Linked DNA regions of Homo sapiens: all the other regions are linked to region 3. The links are contacts of gene promoters, found by promoter capture Hi-C in human tissues and cell types (Jung and others, 2019). All regions are on one chromosome and are shown on one strand. Each heading gives the region's core, a stretch centred on a gene start or on the middle of the fragment in contact. The rest is flanking DNA. Distances are from core to core; before and after follow the strand shown. Region 1 holds the start of CBR3 (carbonyl reductase 3). Region 2 holds the start of MORC3 (MORC family CW-type zinc finger 3). Region 3 holds the start of KCNE1 (potassium voltage-gated channel subfamily E regulatory subunit 1). Region 4 has its middle 8.7 kb from the start of MIR802.

Region 1 (3,009 bases), core at 1-2,500, 1.6 Mb before region 3:
AGTAACTTTTTTTTTTTTTTCATACGGAGTCTCGCTCTGTCTCCCAGTCTGGAGTGCAGTGGCGCGATCTCGGCTCACTGCCTCCCAGGTTCAAGCGTTTCTCCTGCCTCGGCCTCCCAAAGTGCTGGCATTACAGGCGTGAGCCACTGCGCCCTCCTGTAATTTTCTTCAGTAGTAGTTAGAATAAGCAATCTCTTGATCCCCGCCCCTCTCCTTAAGGAAGATGCTTTTAAGACCACACGCACGTATTTTATAACAAACATAAGCTCCCCGGGCGGGGGTGGGGGAACGAGAAGGCTCGCTTCCTTTTTGCCAGAGCCTATCAAAGCTCTGCATTACACAAATTGTCAAGTCCACCAAGGGCAAGCGCGCGCTAATCCTGTTTTAGCGATTCATTTCCTTTCCCGAGCAAATGCCTCCGGGCATCTATGAATGCGCCCTTTCAAGGAAAGCGAAAGCCCAAAGCGAGCGGAGACCGTTTCTTTGCAGAGAAAATGTTTCTCGCGTTGGAAGGAAAGCTGATGAACTCTAGCAGGGCGTTGCCCCCTCCCAGGAGGCCAGTTTTCCTGCACACAACAGCGGCTGACAGTTCGGGGAGGGCCCCGGGCCGCGCACAGGCCCTCACAGGCCGGCGGGCGGGGCGCGCTGTTTGTCGCCCGGGCCCGCCTGGGGCTCAGCGAATCACGGAAAGCGAAAACCGCCTCGCGGGAGGCGTGGGCTGAGCGCATCCCTAGGGGTCGGCGCCACCCTCCTCGGTCACTCAAGTGGACGGGTGGGGAGCCTGCGGCTGGCCACCTCCGCACCCTCGGAGCGCTCCAGGGGGCCCCAACCCAAGCCCTGCACCTACTCTTGAAGGCGACGGCCGCGTTGTTGACCAGTACGTTGAGCCCCCCGTACTCCTTGCGCAGGAAGTCGCGCAGGGCGCGGATGCTCTGCAAGTCGTCGATGTCCAGTTGGTGGAAGCGCGGGCTCAGGCCCTCCGCCTGCAGCTGCTGCACGGCCGCCTGGCCCCGCGCCACGTCCCGCGCGGTGAGCACCACATCCCCAGAGAACTGTCGGCACAGTTCGCGCGCGATGGCCAAGCCGATGCCCCTGTTGGCCCCGGTCACCAGCGCCACGCGGCTGCAGGACGACATGGCTGAGCGGGGAGCGCGGGGCACCTGCGTGGAGGGCGGACCGGGCTTCGGACCACCTGGGGCGCGCCCCGAGGAGCCCAGCTAGTGTCAATGCCGCCGCGCAGACTAAGTTCTGGGATCCAGTGCTGCGAGTCTTAAAGAAAAAGGCCCCGGCTCCGGTCCCTCCCCTCCGAGGAGGGGCCGTCTGTGCCCTCTGTTCCAACTCCCGGGCCCGCCCCCTGCCCACGCTGCGCCCTTCAGGATCCGGGCTCTGAGCCGCGGGGTGATCTGCGAGGTGTCCGAAGCCAAATCGGACCTTGATGGGTCAGTCGGGGGCTCCAGATTCTTGGCAACTGGACTGAAGAAATTATTTTGGGAAAACCCCAAAGTGAGAAAAACAAGTGCTGAGTAATTTTCTTGGGTGTGCGCCCATCATGCACTGCAAAATGCGAATGTTTGCTTTTTCCTAAGATGCAGTGACTTACTTAGACACAGTAACTGCTTCTCTGGACATAGGTTGCCTTGCTTGCTTAAAAGGAACTCAAGAGAGGGAACTAGATGCCCTGTGAGCGCACTTAGCAGGTGTGGGCAGGCGACATCGCTCTGGGATTCCCAGTGAATGTGCCCCCAAGTGGGAGGGAATGTTTTTATTTAATCCTACCTAACTCCTACGGGTGCTAAAAGTGTCTGCATTTAGGTTTGTCCAGGGAGGATATAGATCTATAAAGATCTGGATTGATCATATGTTCTCACAGATCTGTGTACCGGCAAAGAAAGTTAAACCAAATTCCCAAAGGTGTGTCAAGCTGTGGGCACAAAATTAGAGTCTCATCCATCGTCTTCAGTGTAAACTGAGTTGTTTGATCAGTGACTTTGAGATTTGGGGAGAACCATGACATCATCACGACTCAGCCTTTTCCATGCAGAGCTGGCTAACCCGCCTGTGTCTCTGTTACTCTGACTCTACCTTCTCTCTCAAGTCCTTACTTGAGGTTCCGGAGGTGGGCCCCTGCTGTGATCTCCTACTGTGCCTCCCCCAGTATTTCCTTCTTTTTTCTCCTAAAGATCATTTGGTCCGGGCGCGGTGGCTCACACCTGTAATCCCAGCACTTTGGGAGGCTGAGGCGGGTGGATTACGCGGTCAGGAGTTCAAGACCAGCCTGACCAACATGGTGAAACCCCCATCTCTACTAAAAATACAAAAATTACCTGGGTGTGGTGGCACGTGCCTGTAATCCCAGCTACTTAGGAGGCTGAGGCAGGAGAACTGCTTGAACCCGGGAGGCGGAGGTTGCAGTAAACCGAGATTGCACCACTGCACTCCAACCTGTGCAACAGAGTGAGACTTTTCAAAAAAAAAAAAAAAGATCATTTGGAACCTTGTTTTAAGGATATGGGGCTATTTAGGCTTTCTATTTCTGTTTTTTTTTTTTTTTTTTTTTTTTTTAATAGGGTCTTCTCTGTCGCCCAGGCTGGAGTGCAGTGCTGCAGTCGTGGCTCACTGTAGCGTCAGTCTCCTGAGCTCAGGTGATCCTCCCCTTTAGCCTCCCTAGTAGCTGGGACTACAAGTGTGCCACAGTCATGCCTGGATAATTTTTTTTTTTTTTTTTTTTTTGAGACGGAGTTTTGCTCTGTCACCCAGGCTGGAGTGCAGTGGCACGATCTTGGCTCACTGCAACCTCCGAATCCTGGGTTCCAACGATTCTCCTGCCTCAGGCTCCTGAGTAGCTGGGATTACAGGCGCTGCCACTACACCCAGCTAATTTTTGTATTTTTAGTAGATACAGGGTTTCACCATGTTGGCCAGGCTGGTCTCGAACTCCTGACCTCGTGATCCACCCGCCTTGGCCTCCCAAAGTGCTGGGATTACAGGCGTGAGCCACCACACCCGGCC
Region 2 (3,065 bases), core at 388-2,887, 1.8 Mb before region 3:
GAAGAGAATCAAAGGACAGAAACAGGAAATCAACTCACTCCGTTTCTCCACTACAGGTTTCTGGGCCTGAACAAGACTCAACCTCGAGAGAGGAAGGAGAGAGAAGTGGGGAAAGGAGATAGGGGAAAGAGAGGGGGAAAAGGGAGGGAGAGAGAATAGAGATTTTAAACTAGGTAAGGCCAGACTTTACAATACCTTAAGCTAATGGGAAAGCGTTAGTCAACCCAGATTCACACAAGTGGGGAATAATTAATGTTTACACTCAGTGGTTAAAAAAAAAAAAAAGAAAAAAAGAATAAAATTGTCCTCTATTTTCAAACTACTAAAGCCTAGCTCACTCAATAAGCTAGTTACATAACGAAAGGATGGACCTTTATCCAGAATACGTAAAGAACTCTTACAAATCAATAAAGATCCTCCCAAAAGAAAAACAGAAAATGGTCAAAGGATATGAATAGGCAATTCAAAAAAACAAAACAAAAAACCACAAAGACTAATACATGCGAAGAGCTCAACAACACAAACAGTCAAGGAAACGCAAGTAAAAGCAAATATCATTTCACAAATATCGGACTAGAAAAAATTTAAAGTCCGTCAAAACCAGGTGTTAGAATCTGCCTAAACGAATGAAAGTCCCAGAGCAATGCACCAATTATTCACTACGTGTTTGTACCCCAAGGAGTCACTACCCATTCGAATGTTAAAATTAGTGGCACTAGGGCAGTCATTCTTTGGCAAAAGTCAACAACCTCCAGAAAAGAGGAACATTTCAGCATAACATCAACTGCGCTCACAAGGTAGAAAAGTTTTTTAGGATAATCAGGTGGGGAAGCCACGCCCACATTTCCTGGACGTGAGATTTCAAGTTATCTTGTGTGACCGCTCCCTACGATTTAAGATACAAGAAATGTTCACAGGGTTTCCAAGAACTCGAAACGCCCCAAAACAGACGCAACGCGGGATAAAGAGGAGAGCTCGAGCTCAGCGATCTAGGGTCTGGGCCCCAAGGCTTCCACTGCCAAGGAAGCTGCAGGCACTGACAGGCATCAGGCACACTCATCCTGACTCCACTCGCCCGCAGGCAGGCCCGCAGCCCCGTCCCCCCGCCCCCGGGACGTCGAGGCCGCCGGCGTTTCTGGACGCGGAACCCGCTCCCTCCCACCACGACGCCCAGCGGACAGAAGAGGGTCAGGGGCCCCGCGGCCCCGAGAGCAGACCGATCTCCCGCCGAGGCCTCGCCCGCGGACGACAGCTGCTGGGAGACTAGGAGGGAGCTGGGAGGAGGAGCCGCGACCCTGGCCCGCCCCGAAGCAAAACAGAAACACAATGCAGAGGCGACGGAACGCAGCCCGGCCCGCAGCCGAGCTGTTCCGCCGACGGGAGCGAGATGGCCGCCCCCTCCCCGGGCCCCGCCGCAGCCCCCGCCGCCGCGTCGGCCCCACAAGCCGCCACCGCCCACTGCCGGCCCCCCTTCGCTTGCCCGCCCGCCCTCCTGGGACACGGCCCGCTCCACCCCTCGCGGCTGCTCACCGCGCTGAGGCGTATCCCGCGGGGTGGCTGCGCCGCCATCTTGAGCGAGCTACAAAGCCAGGAACGGCCTCCGCCGCAACCCGACTGGGAGGTGGCGGAACGACTGTGGAGCCCTATGGGTACCGCCCACTTCCGGGGAGGGGCGCACGTCTGGCCCCTCCCACCCACTTCCGCCTCCAGGCAATGCCGAATTGGGAGCTTGGGGAAGATGAATTGCCTGACTGGTTAAAGCAGGGTACAGTGGGAGCTGAGCTTCCAGCGCGGGGCCCTGCGGGCCTAGGGCGCATGCGCGAGGCGCGGCCGGCCCGTACCCGTCTCGACACCCAGCTGGAGCTCGAGACTCGGGGATCTAGAGTTTGAAGCCTGGCGCGAGATGCGGTATACCCGAGACCGGTGAACTCCAGTCACTTGACCTGGTCGGATGTGAATTGCGCAGAAAAAAGCCATTCCATATCCACCAGTGTCCATGTGAAACCTTAACGAAATAAAGACGGAAATTAATGTAGACTGTTTGGATTTGCCCTGAAAACTATCAATCTAACTCATGATTTAAAAAAAAAAAAAAGAGTTCTGGGGCCGGGCGCGGTAGCTCACGCTTGTAATCCCAGCACTTTGGGAGGCCGAGGTGGGCGGGCGGATCACCTGACTTCGGGAGTTCGAGACCAGCCTGACCAACATGGAGAAATCCCATCTCTACTAAAAATACAAAATTAGCCGGGCGTGGTGGTACATGCCTGTAATCCCAGCTACTCGGAAGGCTGAAGCAGGAGAATGCTTGAACCCAGGAGGCGGAGGTTGCAATGAGCCGAGATTGCGCCATTGCACTCCACCCTGGGCAACAAGAGTGAAACTCCGTCTCAAAATAAATAAATAAGAGTCCTAAAGGCATAAGGCCGGTGCAGTGGCTCATGCCTATAATCCCAACACATTGGGAGGTCGAGGTTGGGGGTTCACTTGATAGGGGTTCAAGACCAGCCTGGCCAACATGGTGAAACCCCATCTCTACTAAAAATACAAAAATTAGCTGGGCATATTAGTGGGCGCCTGTAATCCCAGCTACTCGGGGGGCTGAGGCAGGAGAAGTGGGTGAACCCAGGACAAGGAGGTTGCAGTGAGCCCAGATCGCGCCACTGTACTCCAGCCTGGGCGACAGAGTGAGACTGTCTCAAAAAAATTAATTATTTTTAGAAAGAGAAATTGGCTGGGTGCAGTGGCTCATGTCTGTAATCTCAGCACTTTGAGAGGCTACATTGCGAGGGTCTCTTGAACCCAGGAGTTCGAGACGAGCCTGGGCAACACGAGGAGACCTCATCTTTACAAAAAAAAAATTGAATTAGCTGGCAGGGCGTGGTGGCTCACACCTGTAATCCCAGCACCTTGGGAGGCTAAGGCGGGCAGATCACTTGAGGTCGGGTGTTTGAGACCAGCCTGACCAACATGGCGAAACCCCATCTCTACTAAAAATACAAAATTAGCCGGGTGTGGTGGCACATGCCCGTAATCCCAGCTACTGGAGAGGCTGAGGCAGGAGAATC
Region 3 (3,364 bases), core at 359-2,858:
TGTATGGCATATTTTCTTTTTTATCGTAATTGTTAAATTGTTTGTCTTCCCTGTTGAAACATAATTTGGGTGGAAGTGGGATTCCTGGTAGCCAATGGCTCATAGTAGACGTTCAACACGCAAGTGGATTGGATAGATGGAAGGATAGATGGGTAGATGGAAAGTTGGATGGATGGATGGATGGATGGATGGATGGATGGATGGATGGATGGATAGGGATTTTGGAGGAAGAGGAGTGAGCAGTCACTGAAAAGAATAGAAAAATAATGAGGCTTGCTCCCTCTCCCTAGTCAGAAGAGCCAGTAAGCAGCTTAGAGCTTTAATCCCACAAATTGTCAGGCAGCTGGCGCAAGAACAGGGAAAAAGAGAGAGAGAGAGAGAGAGAGACCCTGTCTGTGGTAGGTTATGGTCATCAGTGAAAAAGAACAAAAACCTTTGTTTTAAAACTCTCCTCAAAACAGATGATTGGCTAGAGGGTGCGGCACAAAGGAACTTGTCAGGGTGATGGAGACATTCTGTATCTGGATTGAGCAATGCAAGAACCTGGGTAAAGACACAGTCATGGTAACAGCTGTATACATCTGTTGAAAACTCATCAAACTTATCATATTTAGAAAGGGTACATTTTGCTTCATGTAAAGTATGCCTCAATAAAGTGTACTTGATTTTAAAATCAGGATAAAGGAAAAAAACATTGATCTTGGATAATGGGCAGGGGTTGGGGAGAAGGTCTTAATTATCATCATATCCTTTTAAAAACGTTTTTCAAGTGTGTGATGCTCTGATGACATTCTTAAGACACAGCAAGGCAAAGCAGTATCCCAAATGAGAGAGTGAGCATTCCAATAAATATTTTCTGTAAGACACTGATATGTCTATGACTATTTGCTAAATTTAAAAATCAACTTGGACCATATTTACTCCCTTAAAGTCTAATAGACGACTAATTTCTTCTATGTTCAGAACAAATATGTTGCTACTTTAAGAACAGCATACATAGGTGTGGTCGGCCCTCTGTGTCTAAGGCTTCTGCATCTGTGGATTCAACCAACAATGGACTGAAAATATTCCAAAAATAAAATAAAATTAATGAAACAACAACAAAAATAAAACAAATAAAAAAATGCCAGGTAACAACTACTTACAAAGCATTTACATAGTATTAGGTGTTAGAAGTAATCAAGAGATGATTTAAATCACCATCTATGATTGGCTGATATGCATAGGTTATATGCAAATACTATGCCACTATATATAAAGGACTTGAACATTCGCAAATTTTGGTATCTGCAGGGGATTCTGGAACCAAACCCCATGGATACCAAGAGACAACTATATATAAAATACTGAAAGAGGCATGGAGAGTGATTTTCAGGCCTCTACCTAAAGCCCTGAATATTAGAAATTACTGAATTTCTTCTCAGGAAGGAAATTACGCCATAAACCAGTGTTGCCACACACCCAGAGAACAAGATGACCCGACGCCCCAGCCTGGTCATGCCACATGAGCTGAGCAGTGGGTAGGCCACTGAGCCAGTGATAGAAATCACAAATTACAAAACGTCAGAGTACTTTCTGGAAATAAGCCTTCCTCTCCAGGGAACAACGCATTTGACACTTGACTGGGATACACTACCGGATCCTCCGAGGGTGATGGTTCTCAAGAAGGCAGAAGCAATGGTGACCAATAGACCTCCTTAAAGGCTGAGCCGCTGGGCACCTTCCTACTCCTCTCGACCGTGCTAGGATGACTGCAGCAGAGTCCCCGAGTCCTTTGATGCAAGGGTCTAGGTGAGTTCGAAGGAGAGCCATACTAGGCCAGGCAGAAAGGCCCATGGTGATGGCTGTCCACCCTGGTCAGGGGAATTCTAGGTTCAGGCCATGCGGCAAGGTCACCTTGAGGGACATGCTTTGCTCTAAGCTCAGCTTAAGTGTGTCTGAACCCCCCTCACTTCTTCCAACTGCAGAAGCACATGGAGAAGGGGGAGAAAGGGTTGCCCACCTCCTAAAATGAGGGCAGCGTGGTGAAGAGCCCCATCATGCCCCACCAAGGTCCTGTGTGCAGGGCAGGGCAGTGCCTATCCAGAAGGCCAGACCTCTAACTGCTGCTCTGTAGGACGTCCGGGCCTCACATGCAGGCTCCTATAAGCTGGCTGTCTTGGCAAGAGGGCCCTGGTACAGCACTGTGTTCATCACAGAAAACCACACCGTACATAATTTGTAACAGACAGAAATGCATTTGGCTCATGGTTCTGGAGACTGGGAACCCAGGATGGAGGGGCCACATCTGGCAAGGGCCTTCTTGCCATGACATGGTGGAAGGTATCACAAGGTTGGGGAAGGAGGGGTGGGCGGGGCGGGAAGAGAGAGAGAGAGAACAAGAGAGAGAGAATCCATTCATAAGGGTGGAGCCCTCATGACTAAACACCTCCCATTAGGTCCCACCTCCCAACACTGTTGCTTTGGGGATTAAGTTTCCAGCTGGCTTTTTTCAAACCTTAGCAACCACCAAACAGACAAGCCCTTCGGCCTGTCCTGGAGGGCGTTGAATGGCATGGCCTGGAGCTCAACCAGGAGAACCGTGCTCAGGAGGAAGAGACCAGAAGGATAACTCAAAAAGTTCTGAGAAGTTCCTAAGACCACCTGAAGAGAAGGAGCCTGCTGCCAATGGTGTGGACACCGCAGTGTGCTTGAGGAGACTTCAGAAACGAGAACTGGTAGGAGAAGGGGGTTGCACAGACCCTTTCCTCAGTTAGGCACCCTCTGCTCCCACCCTCATGCCCACCCTGACATCAGGCTAAGGGAGAGGCGCTCATCCATTGACAGGTGCCAGGCTGTCCTGGGCCTGGCAAACCCTGGCCTTGTACACCCACTCTCCACACGTCTGCCCCCACCCTCCCAGGGGCAGGGCCGGGCTTCCCTGCAGAGACACAGGGCAAAGAGGGAGAGAGAAGGCCTCAGGCCAGGGCATGGCCTAGTGCCTCCCAGCGCCAGGTCCTGACAGCCTGAGAGAGCTGGAATCAAGGAAGGTGATCCTGGGCCCCAGACAGACGTCAGTGAGCTTCAGCCTCTGGTGGCTGCACACCAGCCAGGGCAGCAGCGCCCCCTCCTGCCTGTGTTCAGCTGTGTGGGCTGCAAGAGGACTAAGGAGAGTTTCAAGGAGGCAGGCAGTGGGGGAGGAAGTGTCCCAGGTAGAGGCTGAAGCTTTAAGGAGGATGGGAGGGGAGGCTTCACCCGGAAGGAGCTTTTGGAGCAAGGGCCTGAAGGAAATTGGGGAGAGAGCCTGAGTATCTTTGGTAACTGGGAAGAGAGCATTCCAAGCAAAGGGAAAAGAAGAGAGGCTGTCAGACAAGTGTGCACCCAC
Region 4 (3,406 bases), core at 852-3,351, 1.2 Mb before region 3:
ACAAGTAAATTCCTGGTGAGCTGCAAGATCTTTACTCTAAGGTGTTTCTGTTAAAATTTCACCATGGCAATGCAAATTGATAGCTTATCTTTACAGGTGCAGCCATCCTCCTGCCCAACTGACCCAAATGCCTATCTGATTATTTCCCTGCCCCATTTTGTCTATGTTATCTTATGTAAAATGCAGATTGCCTGCCTTTTTCCTCTGCCTTATTTGTCTATGTCATCTTACATAAAAAAAATGCAGATTTATTGAGCCAGACAAAGGCACGAATGACTAATTTTTCCTAGCCCCCTCTTACGTGAAAATTGTGTACTTTGCAATATCCTGCCCTTTCCCCTTTAAATTTGGAGCCCTCAGAATCATCTTTGGAGAAAGGCATAGACCTGTCTCCCAGGCTCGCATTCTTACCTTTGGCAAATAAACTTCCTAAAATGATTGAGACTTGTGTTGTCATTTTTCTCAATTGACATCACTAATGATTATTGTTATAATAAAATATTGTTTAGTACCTTGGTCTGCAGCGTAGCCATCTATTTCGAAGGGGGTTTTAAGTTTTGTAACATTGAGAGAGAAATTCAAAGCTTCATGCCTTTGAGCGTCAATCCCAAGGAGTTCCCCCTAGAGGTCTGGCATAGAAATGTGTTTGCCTCACCTGTAATTCCAGCACTTTGGGAGTCTGAAGCGGGCGGATCACCTGAGGTCAGGAGTTTGAGACCAGCCTTGGTAAACCTCGTTTCTACTAAAAACACAACAATTAGCCAGGCGTGGTGGTGGGCACCTTTAGCCCGGTGACTTGGGAGGCTGAGGTAGGAGAATCACTTGAACTCGGGAGGCAGAGGTTGCAGTGAGCCAGGATCACACCATGGCACTCCAGCCTGGGCAACAGAGCAAGTCTCTGTCTCAAAAAAAAAACAAAAAAAAAAAACAAAAATCAAAAACCAAAAACCAAACCAAACCAAAACAAAAAAAAATGAAAGAAAAGAAATGTGTTTGCCTGATTCAGTGGTGGCTCCAGGAGCAGCACGAGGAGGCAGAGTGCTCAGGACCAAGAGGATGCAACACACCATTTCCAAGATACTCATTTTCACCCATTTTGTCTGTGGATTTTTTGAGCCAACCTGGCTGACCTTTGAAGCTATTTCCTGATCAGGAAGACTGGAGAGATAAGAATGAGGCTGAGGACTGGAGTACAGTAGGCATCTATGATGCTGACCTGTCTCAGAAGATGGGAAGAAGCCACCTAGATGTGTGGATAATTATTTTCCCGAAATTAATTTTTTACCTGTTTTTTTCCCCCTTTTGTCTCTCCGCTTTCCAACTTTTCTTTAAAACATAATTTCAAACTGTAAGGTGTATATTTGTTAAACTTCTAGTGTGGAACTCATTTCAAATTACAGAAAAATTGCAATAGTAAAAATATTGAGAAGCACAACAAATACCCTTTATCCAGAATCACCTGTTGTGGACATTTTATTCCATTGGCTTTATCATTTGCTCTCTCTTTCCATACATACACATATACATGTATGCATAACATAGAAAAAATATATTTGTCTCCTTTGCAAGCAAGTTGCGTACACCATGGCCCTTTACCCCTAAATCCCTCAGAGTGTATTTCCTAAGACTAGGAATATTTATTCTTTTGCACAGCTGTAGTACGCTTATCAACTTTGGTAAATTTTGCCTCAATATAATACTCTTATTTACTGTCCATATTCCAGTTTTGTTAATTGACCCAACAATGTACTTATAACACTTTTTTTCCTTCAATAAGGACTCAGTCTAAGATTGTATTTAGTTATATGTCTCTAGTCTCTGTAAGGTATATTTTTTAAAGGGCAGAGCACTTTCAAGCACTAAAAGGATAATCTGTTTTTTTTTTTTTTTTGGAGACAAAGTCTCACTCTGTGGCCCAGGTTGGAGTGCAATGGCGCGATCTTGGCTCACTGCAACTTCCACCTCCCCGGTTCCAGTGATTCTCCTGCCTCAGCCTCCCGAGTAGCTGCGATTACAGGTGCCTGCCACCACGCCCAGCTAATTTTTGTGTTTTTAGTAGAGACGGGGTTTCACCATGTTGGTCAGGCTGGCCTTGAACTCTTGACCTCAAGTGATCCACCCGTCTCGGCCTCCCAAAGTGTTGGGATTACAGGCATGAGCCACCATGCCTGGCCAATCTTCCTTTCTTGCTCTTAATAACAGGAGCAAACACACTTGATCTACTTATGATATTCAATGCTCTAATTAAGAAAAAATAAAATGTTCATATCTTAAAAATGGCTAACTTTTTTGGGGTGCTGTTTAGAGGTGTTTAATTTTTCTAAGTTATCTAAAGTTTCTATTCTGGTGCTTCTGTTGCTATAAACTTCTCAAGGACAAGTGTTCTCTTCCTTCCTCAAGTTTAATTTGAAAAATGTGCAGTCACCAGCAAATGGAATTACAGGGAAATCTTTTAGTGTACAGATGGGAAAGCACACCCTTTTGGAATTCAGATTGAATCTGTGCTTTCCCAGGTTTGGTTTTCTCAGACAAATGCCACCTATTTTTACACAGGAAAAATTCTACCAGCAGTTATAAGTACCTCTCAAATTTTGGGCACAGCAAAGAAATTATAGTTGATCCTTGAACAATGTGGTGATTAGGGATGCTGACCCCCCTCCTCCACCAATGCAGTTGAAAATCCATGTATAACTTCACCAATAGCCTGCTCCTCAAAAACTTAACCAATAGCCTACTGTTGGCTGGAAGCCTTGCTGATAACACAGACAGTCAATTAGCACATATTTTGTATGTTATATATATATATTATGTACTGCATTCTCACAATAAAGTAAGCTAGAGAAGAGAAAATGTTATTAAGAAAAAGGTGGATGAAATACATTTACTATTCATTGAGTGGAAGTGGATCATCATAAAGGTCTTCATCTTCATCATGTTCATGTCGAGTAGGCTGATAAGGAGGAGGAAGTGGAGGGGTTGGCCTTGCTGTCTCAAGAGGGGCAGAGGCAGCAGAGATGGAGGAGGTGGAAGGGAGGTCAGGAGAGGAGGCATGTTCAGTGTAACTTTTACTGAAAAAGAGTCTGTATAAATGAACCTGCATAGTTCATACCCATATTGTGCAAGAGTCAACTGTACTGGAAAAACAAAACCCATAAAATCTCTTCCAAAGTGTTGAGCAAAGACATGGGAAACAATATTAAGGTTCGAGGTCTCTCTTTTCATTGGCAATAGCTTCTTTGGCTGTTTCTTCCACTCTTTATAACAGACTTCTTTAGAAGGGACCAGGGACTTTTTAGATTCAGCTTGCTACATGTTTTTATGAATTCCATAAACAGAAAGGGATGTGTGCATGGGTGGGAGAGGAGGGGAAAAAGAGGTAGAAGAGTGGTGGTCGTTCGCAGGAAGG

The links. The method cuts DNA at HindIII sites, captures the fragments that hold promoters and counts their contacts. A contact is called where the count stands out against the background at its distance.
Region 1: the fragment with the promoter of CBR3 here is called in contact with the fragment with the promoter of KCNE1 in region 3 in 1 of the 25 tissues and cell types used here (spleen).
Region 2: the fragment with the promoter of MORC3 here is called in contact with the fragment with the promoter of KCNE1 in region 3 in 1 of the 25 tissues and cell types used here (spleen).
Region 4: a contact is called between a fragment that was not itself captured here and the fragment with the promoter of KCNE1 in region 3, in 1 of the 25 tissues and cell types used here (dorsolateral prefrontal cortex).

Annotation. Positions count from the first base shown.
Region 1 is chr21:36,133,320-36,136,328 of GRCh38, reverse strand. It overlaps CBR3 (carbonyl reductase 3), which reads right to left and starts at 1,250. Exons shown (of 3, transcript NM_001236.4): 1 at 848-1,250. The coding sequence starts at 1,136. The region is part of intron 2 of CBR3-AS1 (CBR3 antisense RNA 1); the gene reads left to right. RefSeq lists enhancers at 276-445, 281-1,087, 1,088-1,895 and silencers at 596-765, 1,196-1,265. The HindIII fragment of the contact is 7,591 bases long and covers 1-3,009 here.
Region 2 is chr21:36,318,769-36,321,833 of GRCh38, reverse strand. MORC3 (MORC family CW-type zinc finger 3) reads right to left here and starts at 1,637. Exons shown (of 17, transcript NM_015358.3): 1 at 1,531-1,637. The coding sequence starts at 1,569. RefSeq lists a silencer at 1,054-1,513. The HindIII fragment of the contact is 28,282 bases long and covers 1-3,065 here.
Region 3 is chr21:34,510,454-34,513,817 of GRCh38, reverse strand. It overlaps KCNE1 (potassium voltage-gated channel subfamily E regulatory subunit 1), which reads left to right and starts at 1,608. Exons shown (of 4, transcript NM_000219.6): 1 at 1,608-1,791; 2 at 2,503-2,717. The HindIII fragment of the contact is 8,709 bases long and covers 1-3,364 here.
Region 4 is chr21:35,727,731-35,731,136 of GRCh38, reverse strand. No RefSeq gene overlaps it. Among named protein-coding and RNA genes, the nearest start is that of MIR802, 8.7 kb to the right of the region's middle. The HindIII fragment of the contact is 4,135 bases long and covers 34-3,406 here.